2 separate regions of the Homo sapiens genome follow, and region 1 is linked to region 2. The links are contacts of gene promoters, found by promoter capture Hi-C in blood cells and fetal thymus (Javierre and others, 2016). All regions are on one chromosome and are shown on one strand. Each heading gives the region's core, a stretch centred on a gene start or on the middle of the fragment in contact. The rest is flanking DNA. Distances are from core to core; before and after follow the strand shown. Region 1 overlaps ABLIM1 (actin binding LIM protein 1). Region 2 holds the start of ABLIM1 (actin binding LIM protein 1).

Region 1 (5,794 bases), core at 257-2,756, 190 kb after region 2:
AGCTGTCGGGAGGTGGGGAGGGGGTGGGGATTGTGTGAGCTGGGCAGAGCAAATAAGGGAGTGAGGGTCTCCTGGGGGTCTTAGTCTAGTGATAAGCTTTAAGTATATTCATGGCATCATGAGGAGAGAGAACACACCCCCTAAATTTTGGTAATTACAGTTTTCAGCAACTTAAGAAAGTTAGCATGTGAAAGAAAAAATAAAGTAGAGCGCATGGGGCAACAGTCTAGCACAGGAGTGTGAGCCAGCATTCTGGAATCAAATTACCTGGTCTCAACCCAGGGATCACCACATGCCGATTGTTTGACTTTGACCATGTGACAGCCATTCTGCTGCTAGTTTCCTGGACCAGGTACAGTGCTCATACCTGTAATCCCAACATTTTGGGAGGCTGAGGGCCGGAGGATTGCTTCAGGCCAGGAGTTGAAGACCACCCTGGACAACATAGTTGAGACCTCATCTATATATATTAAAAAAATAAGAAAAATGGTCCTAGTTTCTTCATCTGTAAAACAGATAGGGTGATGATAGAATCTACCTCATAGGGTGTTAGTGAGGATTAAGCAAGCTAATCTATGTAAAGCAATTATCAGAGGCCAGACTTGGGGGAAATACTGAGCATGTGGCAATTTCTACCATTGTTGCTACCTGTCCTCTTGGGGCTCGTTAATACTCGGCCTGCAGACCCATCTGCTGCGGGACCAGAGCCTCTCAGCCCCTTGGGGTCCTCCCCTCCCCGGTCCCATCTCAGGGTTGAAGGTTCTCTGTGGTCGCTTCCTACCCAAGTCCGTTTCCCCTGGCCAATCGGCTCACTCTCATTTTTTTCTCTTTTATTTTTTGAATTAGAATCATCTGTAGACTGATTTTAGTCCACAAAGATGTTAACAAATAGCTGACAAATCAGCTATTCAACAAAGGTTAAAACAGAATATAAACAATCTAGCATCTCACAGTGCTTTGAGGTCTTGGAGAAGAAAAGGCATGAAAATGTGATTCTGTTTAATTGTTCTCAATTCCAGATGTATAATATTATTTGATAATTATATTTATGTTTATTTTTTATTTTATATATATTGTTCCTTTTATTTATTTACTTTCTAATCTGGGTTTTATTCCAGAGCATAGCTCTGCGTGGAAAAGGTCCCTGTGGCAGGAAGTGATATCCATTTTCATGTAGTGCCACCTAGTGGTCACTTAGCTGTAGCTGCACTTGCGGCCGCTCTCAAGCGCAGGTGCATTGGCCCGGGTTGTCAGTTGCCATTGAACCCCACAGAGTTTCGTAGGGCATAAGAGGCGAGGGGAAGTTCCTGAACAAAGTGCATAGAGATTGGCCTTGGACCCTGTGGATGAGAATTTACTAATGTTTAACCCATACAAGCAAGGGGATGTGAGTTTTTTTAATGGTGTTAAGGATTTGGGGTTCATGGTGTGCAGTGTACGTGTCTGTGTGCGTTTCCCAGCAGCTCCATCAAGGCAGTAAAACATTAAGCACTCAAGAGTTTGGGCTTTGAGGTGAAAATCTCTGCATTTAAAACCAGACTCTGCCAGACATGGTGACTCATGTCCGTAATACCAGCACTTTAGGAGGCCAAGGCCAAGGTGGGTGGATTGCTTGAGACCAAGAGTTTGAGACCAGCCTGGACAACATACCAAAATTCCATCTCTACAGAAAAAAAATACAAAAATTAGCCAGGAATGATGGCACACGCCTGTAGTCCCAGCAACTTGGGAGGCTGAGATGGGAGGATCACTTGAGCCCAGGAGGTTGAGGCTGCATTGAGCCATGATCATGCCATTGTACTCCGGCCTGGGTGATAGAGTGACACCCTGTCTCAAAAACAAAACAAAGCAAACAAAACAAAAACCACCACCACAAAAAAAGAAAAAAAGAAAAACCAGACCGATGCTGACTAACCACATAACTTTGGGGAAATTATATACCTCAATCTCCTTATCTGCAAACTCAAGATAGAGAACAAGAATACCTATGCTAGAAGTTTTCTGTAAAGAGTAAGTGAGCTATTTACATTAGAACAGTACTGGGCACATAATAAGTGCTTAAGAAAAATGCTGGCTACTCTCGTAATCAGCATACTTACTGTCATAACCTGGAATTATGTCCCATGGTTTTCTCTATGCATAGAGGGTGCCCCTGGGATCAGAAATCAGATATATTAGTGAACTCTTTCCCAATACTTGCATCTTGCAACTGAGAGAAATTTACAAGCTGTTCTATTATTTATTCCATTAAAGTTTAACACACTTCTTTTATAGACCTCATATACATATTGCCTTTTTTTTTTTTTTTTTTTTTTGAGGTGGAGTCTCACTCTGTCACCCAGCTGGAGTGTAGTGGTGCAATCTTGGCTCACTGCAACCTCTGCCTCCCAGGTTCAAGCAGTTCTGCTGCCTCAGCTTCCCAAGTAGCTGAGACTACGGGCATGTGCCACCATGCTGGGCTAATTTTTGTATTTTCAGTAGAGTTGGGGTTTCTCCATGTTGGCCAGGCTGGTCGTGAACTCCTGACCTCAAGTGATCCACCCGCCTTGGCCTCACAAGGTGCTGGGATTACAGGTGTGAGCCACCGCACCTGGCCTTTATACATATTGCCATTTAAGAAACACTGCAAGAGTCAGATTAGTTCTGTGCAGCCATTGGTGCCTCCAGGGCCTTGCTGTCAGTGCAGGTGCAGACCTGGGCCCTGACCTTGAGACCAGCCTTCACCCAGCTGAGACCCCCTAGAGACAGGCTGTAGCTGCAGAGGAGACCCTGGAGCTTGTGAAGGCTTAGAATACAGACAGTCCGCCCACTTACTATAGAATGTGGGGAAAAGGGCAAATTCTAAAACTGAGAAGTCCACCCCTGGCTGTGTTCTCCATAGCTCTGTTTGAATTTCATTTCTATTTGAAAGCTTTTTGCATTTTAATTGTAAACATTTTATTCATCTGGAAAATACTTGAGCAACTACTGTGTCCCAGGAGCTGCTGTCATCACTGGGAATATGTAGTTGTAAACAAACAGTCCTTGCCCTCATGGAGCTTGTGGCATCACGTGGGAGACAGACAGTAAAGAAACAGATATGTAATATAATTTTACAGAGTGGTAGGGCTCTGAGGAGAAATGAAGCAGAGTAAAGAGAAAGCGTACCAGGGGCTGGGTTGCTCCTCTGGACAGAATGGTCACGGAGATGCTGTGTGACAGTGGGTTTGAGCAGAGACATCAGCGCTGACAGGGAATGAGCCCTGCAGGTGTCTGGGTGAAAAGCACTGGCAGCAGAAGAGACAGCAAGTGCAAAGGCCCTGAGGTGACAGAAAGCTTGGCCTGTTGATGGCCCCAAGGAAGCCTGTGTGCCTAGGAGGATGGAAGCCAGAGGTGAATGATAGTGAGATTGGCGAGGTGAATGATAGTGAGATTGGCGATGCAGCCAAGGCAGGATGCCCCATGCCTGGTCACCAAAGTCCTATTTTAGTTATCAAACTATTTTATGGTGATTGCTGTGGTTGTAATTTAGTCAACAACCATGTGAACAAGATCCTATGTTTCAGTAGATGCTGTAACTCATCATAGTAAAATGAGCGTAGTTTGAATATATAAGGGAAATGGTTCCAACTTGTCTAGCTTAATCACCTAAGTATGTATCACAATCATATCTAGTCATGGTTCTTTTTTTTTTTTTTTTTTTTTTGAGACAGAGTCTCGCTCTGTCTCCCAGGCTGGAGTGCAGTGGCGTGATCTCGGCTCACTGCAAGCTTCGCCTTCCGGGTTCACGCCATTCTCCTGCCTCAGCCTCCCAAGTAGCTGGGACTACAGGCGCCCGCCACCGCGCCTGGCTAATTTTTTGTAGTTTTTAGTAGAGACGGGGTTTCACCATGTTAGCCAGGATGGTCTCGATCTCCTGACCTTGTGGTCCGCCAGCCTCAGCCTCCCAAAGTGCTGGGATTACAGACGTGAGCCACCGCACCCGGCCTATTCATGGTTCTTAGGCAGAGATGTGCACCAGAATCTCCCCGGAACTTTGTCAGAGTCTACCTGTCTGAGCCCCATGGCAGATGCATTTGTACCTGATCAGAAGACAGGGAGATGTGGAGGGATGCTGGCAGGTACATGTTGGCTAATATTTACAGCTGACTCTGATAAACAACTCTAATTAAAACTGGCAAAGAGGCCAGGCGCGGTGGCTCACGCCTGTAATCCCAAAACTTTGGGAGGCTAAGGGGGGCGGATCATGAGGTCAGAAGATAGAGACCATCCTGACTAACGCAGTGAAACCCCATCTCTACTAAAAATACAAAAAAAGTAGCTGGGGGTGGTGGCGGCGCCTGTAGTCCCAGCTACTTGGGAGGCTGAGGCAGGAGAATCGCTTGAACCTGGGAGGCGGAGATTGCAGTAAACCGAGATTGCGCCACTGCACTCCAGCCTGGGCGACAGAGCGAGACTCCATCTCAAACAAACAAACAAACAAACAAAACGGCAAAGAGTTAACAAACATTGTGACTTTAAATTCTCTTTTATTTTTCTAGTCTCCGAGGACTTTGTCTCCTACTCCATCAGCAGAAGTAAGTACCATTTCTTTTTATCATTTTAATGGGTGGAATTTGAGAATTGCTTGGCCCTTCCCTAGACTGGGATTTTTGAAAAAGAACATAACATACAAAAGAACAGAAAAACTGCATGTGGGGTTATGGTGGCTTTGGGGATTACCTCCGTGAAAGAGGAGACTCTAAGACACAGCAATATATTTCTCTTAAATTGGAGACCAGGGAGTAAAAATGGCCTCACTTTAATCTGTGTCTGTGCCTGTAAGTGGAAGCAAAGTGTCTGCAGGAACATAAGTCACTTGTCCCAATGTGGGGCTCTTTGTCCGCATCTATAATTAATTTTTCTGAACCCTAATATACTGAAATGGCCAACAGCCATCATGGCGTATTCTATAAGCAGAGCCATCTTGATGGGAGGTTACTCTGTTTAGTCTGAAATCAATCATCTGATCCTAAAACCAAGCAACTTTCTGGATATTATGAAACTGGACTACTTTTAGGGAATCTCTGTAATTCAAAGTAGTAAAAATACCATAATATTTTCATGGTTTATGACTGCTATGAATTATTAATTTCTACCTATATTCTAATAATTTGCATTGAATTTATGAAGAATTAATTTCTATTGACCAACTGTGCAAGCTTGAAGCACATAATCTGGGGACTTTTTGTTTTGTTGTTGTTTTATTTAATTTATTGTTATAGACAACTAGTATCAAGCCAAAGTTTCCCCTTGCCATTTGCTCTCAAATTCCACAAAGCTATGGTTACTGAGGTGTTCATTTAGTCGTTATTAATGCATTCTTTCAAACTTTTTACTTTTATTGTGCTAGTAGAAATTTCATAGGACAACAGATTCCTAAAATGTAAAATATTCTTTGTACTCTTTCAACTCTTTAGACAGTTTTATATTGTGTGTGTGCATGTGGTTTTTTGTACTTATTACCTAATATATCCTTTTCTAGATTTGGAGATAGGTGACATTTTAGTGGTGCTATGATATTCCATTGAATTCGCATGTCATAATTTCCTTTTTTTTTGAGACAGAGTCTCACTCTGTTGCCCAGGCTGGGGTGTAGTGGCACAATCTTGGCTCACTGCAACCTCTGCCTCCTGGGTTCTAGTGATTCTCCTGTCTCAGCCTCCCAAGTAGCTGGGATTACAGGTGCACACCACCATGCTCAGCTAATTTATGTATGTTTAGTAGAGACAGGGTTTCACCATGTTGGGCAGGCTGGTCGCAAACTCCTGACCTC
Region 2 (5,710 bases), core at 1,546-4,045:
TATATGGATCTGTAAACTTGTAAAAAAAAAAATTTAGGAGTGTTCTGTGCATGCTCTGCAGCTACAATGGCTAAGCACTGAGGTAGAGTTAATGCAGTGGAAATAGTTTTTGTGGGCAATGCTTGATGAGTTTAGGGACCAAGAAAGCCGAACAGCTTTGTTATGGAAGAGTTACCTTTTTTCCAGGTCAGGAAGATGCTGGGTTTGAAGGAAATAGTCTCTTTTCTGTCCAAAGTCTGTGTTTGTGCATTGTTACTGTGTTCCAGAGCCTGCCTTCAAAGTGGCTGTATCATGTTCCTCTATATAAACACATCTATATTTCACAAAAAGACCATGTAAGCACATATAAGCAAGTAGCTGCTCAGGTTCTCAGTTTGCAAAGAGCAGAGCTCCAGGAAACCCAGCAAGAAAGAATTAACAATGAAAGGCAGGGGTTCCCACACTACGATGTTTATTACAAAACACTCTAGAAGAACCTGGTAGGGCTGAGGTGGCCCTCGGGGATCTCCATCTTAAACAAATTGGCCCAGAAATCACATTTTGGGAAATACGGTTTTTTTTTTGATGGATGAATGCCACTTTTTTTTTTTCCAGTTGTATTTCTTTTCTTTTCTTTTTTTAAATTTCAATAGTTTTGGAGGGATCAGGTGATGTTTGATGACATGGGTAAGTTCTGTAGTGGTGCTTTCTGAGATTTTGGTGCACCCATCACCCTAGCAGTGTACACTGCACCTAATGTTTAGTCTTTTATCCCTTACCCTCATTTTGAGAAACATTGATAGAACATCTTACATTGTATATCTGAAGGTTCCTCAAAATAGGCAAACAGGGAAAAGAACACATACAGATTGTTTGACCTGCTTTGTAAACTGTTTTTAGAGGAAGACTTTGGAGGTTGGTGTTGGGCTTAATTCCCAGAATTTTGGAGCAGAAATTTTGAGGTGTGACTTCAGTAGTGGTAGAAGTCCCATGTTCCCACTTTCCCCAAGTCCACCTCAGTCTGAGTGCCTCTAGACAGCGTCTGTTTCTTCCATTCCCACCGTGCTTCACATTGGCATAGAATAATTCTAGCAAATTGGAATTCTCAGGTTCTTGAATTGTGTTGCCAATAGATTAGGAACTTGTAACAAAAGAAGCAAGAATTTCCTTTCTCTGCTTCATCTGCCTGGGGCCTTTGTGGAAGGACCCGACTATTGGATAGGAAGAGTCAGCATGGGAGGCAGAAGACCCGGCTCCACCCTAGGCTCTCTGCATTGTCCTGAGAAAGTCACATCTTCTCTGAGACTCACCTTCCTCATCTTAAAGGCTGGCGTAGATCAGTGCTTCCTGAGTGCTGGCACTAGTCTGGGAGAATGTTTAGAAATGTAAATGATGAGTTAATGGGTGCAGCACACCAACATGGCACATGTATGCATATGTACCTGCACATTGTGCACATGTATCCTAGAACTTAAAGTATAAAAAAAGAAAAGAAATGTAAGTTCCTGACCTTTACGTGCAAGAATCCCGTATATATATATTTTGTATTTTTCAAAAGTTCTACAGATTTTTTGTTTTGAGACAGAGTCTTGCCCGGTCACCTAGGAGTACAGTGGCACAATCATAGCTCACTGTAACCTCAAACTCCTGGACTCAACCAATCCTCCTGCCTCAGCCTCCCGAGTAGCTGGGACTACAGATGCATGACACCACACTTGGCCAATGTTTTAATTTTTTTTTTTTTTTCTGTAGAGACAGAGTCTTGCTATGTTGCCAGGGCTGGTCTCGAAGTGGCCTCAAGCAATCCTCCCACCTCAGCCTCCCAAAGTGCTAGGATTACAGACGTGAGCAACCGCACCTGCAGATGGTTCTTATGCACAGCAATATTTGGGAACTACTGGACTAGATTACCTTTGATGGCCTTGTCAGCTCTATAATTCTATTCTAGGGTTTTAATGAAAAGGAATTTATATTAGAACATAATAGCCCAATGACAGGAGAAGGAGTGTGAGTTTATTCATTTTGACTTGGGACTTTTGTATGGTTGTAGACGGTCACATTTTGTACTGCATCTTACTGTGTGGATGTTAAAGAGTAAATGATAATTACTGGGGTTGTCCTTTTTATATCAATACACTAATTCCATGAAGGTCCTTCTAGCTTGTAACTTTGTGTAAAGCTGAAGCTACCTACATGTTAATTCTGTCTCCATCATATGATTCTGCCATCACAGAAAACCCATGAAACATTACGACAGTAAACATTGGCTTAATGGAATGAGGCAGAAGGATTTTCCTGGTACTGAGGGGAGGGGTCCCCTTCTAGAAAATGGAAAGGAAATGATCGTTTACTATGGCTGAGAGCTGGATTTGTCACGAATTGAAGCTGAGGATCTTTATCGAGCCTTCCCCACCTCCACCTGTGAGATCTGAAATACTGGAAAACTTGGAATTATTACCCTGGGATTTTTCTGATAGACATTTTTAGATTATATAAAATATGTGTATATATCCCTAGCCCTATTCTCAGTACTCTTACCAGATGATACTGAATATTCTAGGAGTATTTGCAGGAGAATTCTTTTAGATATTGCAGTTATATTCTTTCTCTTATTCTGGATATTAATCTGATTTTCAAATATGCATTCATGTCTGAGACTGAAAGTCTCGAGTTCCTGGTAGTGGCTGTTTTTATACCTAGTCATCTGACTGAGAATATGGTGCCCTAAGCTCTTGAGGGTAATCACTTAAATACATCTCCCTTAATCTTCTTTGCTGGGCAGTGAGAAAAGGAGACAGTAAGGAGCCAGGGGAACAGAGAGAATTGTGGGGCAGCACCGCTCCTTGGGTCCCCACTCCCCATTTCTCATTGCTTGGAAATCCATGCCAAGATGCCTGCCTTCCTTGGTCTAAAGTGTCTGGGGAAATTGTGCAGCTCTGAGAAAAGCAAAGTCACCTCATCTGAGAGAACCAGTGCCAGGGGCTCGAACAGAAAGAGACTGATTGTTGAGGACCGGAGGGTCTCTGGGACCTCCTTCACCGCTCATAGGCGTGCCACTATCACTCATTTGCTGTATCTCTGTCCCAAGGACTACTGCCCACGTGGGCGTGTATGTAACAGCGTTGATCCTTTTGGTAAGTAAAATAACCCTCTCTGGACATGGTTTTGTGTTTTGTGATTGGCGTAATTAAGAGAGTACTATCCAGATCATTCTTCTGTAATGTGTTCTTCAAAGGAAACACTATCCTTAATATATAATTAATGGGGGTGAGGGTGGGAGAGATGGAGAATGTAACATAAGTGTAGCTACGGAGCTAAATCCCAAGGATATTTTTGTCCAGGATTTTATGATCTTCAGTAACAAATGTATCTCTTTCCAAACTTGGTATGAATAATTGTCAGTAATAGGAAGTATGATGGAAAAGAAAGATCTCTATCTGTAGATGTTATTATTTCATATGACAAAGGATGAATGGAAAGGAAATATTCAAGGGGGGAGATGGAGGCTAGCAAAAGATAAGTAAAGTTGAGGTCCAAATTGTGTCACTGTGTAGGGAGGGCTCGTCTTGTGAAATGTTCTAAAAAAGAAATAAAATAAAAAGAAAGTGTTTTAATATTGAGAGAACTTGTTGAGGCTTCTTTTCAGTGAAGCTCATTAAAACGTGTCACTCATCCCTCTGCCTGGGAAAGAGGTGGAGAAGGCCCACTCTGAGGATAGAGTTATTGCACTTGGGAGTTTTCAGACTTTGAAGTTATCATGGTGCCTTTGTTAATGAAGATGATACCTACCCAACTGCTCACACCTTGTCAAAGTCAGACCTAGAATTGGTACAGGAAGCAGAAGGCAATTAACCATGGTCCCTACGAATGTATGAAGTTAAGTCAAATAAGCCAGGAAGCATAACGCATTCCTCGTCATTCTTGGACAGCCAGAGTTGAATTGGATTCAGTTTAGCTGAAGTACTGGAGTTAAGATGTTCTGTTTTGTTGCAATCAGCTTTCAACAGCTTTATTGAGTTATAATTCATATGCTGTAAAATTCATCCATTTAAAGTCTATAGTTCAGCGAGTTTTAGTATGCAACTGATATGTTACATATATATTTTCATTGCCTCAAAAAGAAACCCTGTACCCTTTAGCTATCGCCTCCCCACCCCAACCTCTTCATCCCCATCTCTCAGCCTTAAGAAATCAAAATCTACTTTCTGCCTCTTAGATTTCCCTATTCTGGATATTTCATGTGAATGGAATTTATAATCTGTGGTCTTTCGTTTATGGCTTCTTTCACTTAGCATGTTTTCAGGGTTTACCCATGTTGTAGCACGTGTCAGTACTTTATTCCTTGTTATGGCCAAATACTATTTCACCGTATAGATATTCCACAATTTGTTTCTGCTTACACCAGCTGATGGACATTTGGGATGTTTCCAACTTTTGGATTTTATGAATAATGCCTCTATGCATATCCATATACAAGGTTTTTTTTTCTTTTTTCGTGTCAGATGGGTAATGTGCCAATGTCATAACAAGGTTCGAGGGTGGCTCACCTCACACACGCGTGTGTGAACACATCAAAAGGATCATCATATACAGGTTTTTATGTGGACATATGATATGTTCAGGGCTCTTGGGTGTATACCTAGGTGTGGAATTTCTGGGTCATATAATAACTATGTCTAACCTTCTGAAGGACTTCTAGATTATTTCACAAAGCAGTTACTCCATTTTACATTCCCACCAGCAGCATATTAAGGTCCCAGTTTCTCCACATCCTTGCTAACACTTGCTATTATCTGCCTTTTTTTTTTTTTTTTTTTTTTTGAGACGGAGTTTTGCTTTGTTGCCCAGGCTAGAGTGTAATGGCGTGATCTCGGCTCACTGCAACCTCTGCCTCCTGAGTTCAAATGATTCTCCTGCCTCAGCCTCCCAAGTAGTTTGGATTACCGGCATGTGCCACCACACCTGGCTAATTTTGTATTTTTAGTAGAGATGGGGTTTCACCATGTTGGCCAGGCTGGTCTGGAACTCCTGACCTCAGGTGACCTGCCTGCCTCCACCTCCCAAAGTGGTGGGATTATAGGCATGAGCCACCGCGCCCGGCCTTATCTGACTTTTTTATTCTAGCCATCCTAGTGGGTGTGAAGCGGTATCTCACTGTGCCTATACAGAGCTTTGGCTGGGACAGAGAGGGCTGACAAGCAGATCAGTGCTCAGGCAAGACAGGATACCGACTTCGACAGCTGCTGATGGTAACAGCTCCTTGTCTCTTACTCTTAACAGTCTTCTCTTCATGATTCCAGGCACATTCCTTTTTAGGGGAGCAGGGAGCGGGGATGAAGAAGCCATGCCTTCTGCCCAGTCCCCTTACAAGCTCTGCTAAGAAGACTTTGTTCAGAACCAGCTGAGTATGCCTATTGTAGCAAATGACACCTCCCTCAAAAATCAGATCCACATACTAGGGGATACCTAGAATCCCTTTATTGAGGAAAAAATGTTTTATTCCACAAATAGGAATAAAAATGAAACATGTAGATTTCTGCTGGAGCTAACACTTTATTCTGAATGACTTCGATGCTTCTATGGAATGTTTCTACTCAAACAGACTCAAATCAGATATTTTTGGAATGAGCCACTGTTGCTCTTGAAAGAGATAAGATCTGTTGGGAGGAGAAGGCAGGAAGGCAAGGGGAAGCCAGGTAAGCTGTAGTTTAATGAAAGCATGCTGGATAAT

The links. Contacts are between HindIII fragments. The CHiCAGO score rates a contact against its expected background, and 5 or more counts as called.
Region 1: a contact is called between a fragment that was not itself captured here and the fragment with the promoter of ABLIM1 in region 2, in 2 of 17 cell types (non-activated CD4 T cells and naive CD4 T cells). The highest score is 6.0, in non-activated CD4 T cells.

The regions. Positions count from the first base shown.
Region 1 is chr10:114,466,943-114,472,736 of GRCh38, reverse strand. It overlaps ABLIM1 (actin binding LIM protein 1), which reads left to right. Exons shown (of 23, transcript NM_002313.7): 11 at 4,521-4,556. Among named protein-coding and RNA genes, the nearest start is that of AFAP1L2, 65 kb to the right of the region's middle. The HindIII fragment of the contact is 2,815 bases long and covers 99-2,913 here.
Region 2 is chr10:114,655,360-114,661,069 of GRCh38, reverse strand. ABLIM1 (actin binding LIM protein 1) reads left to right here and starts at 2,795. Exons shown (of 23, transcript NM_002313.7): 1 at 2,795-3,113. The coding sequence starts at 2,870. LOC124902588 (small nucleolar RNA U13) reads right to left here and starts at 4,575; the gene lies at 4,476-4,575. The HindIII fragment of the contact is 14,035 bases long and covers 1-5,710 here.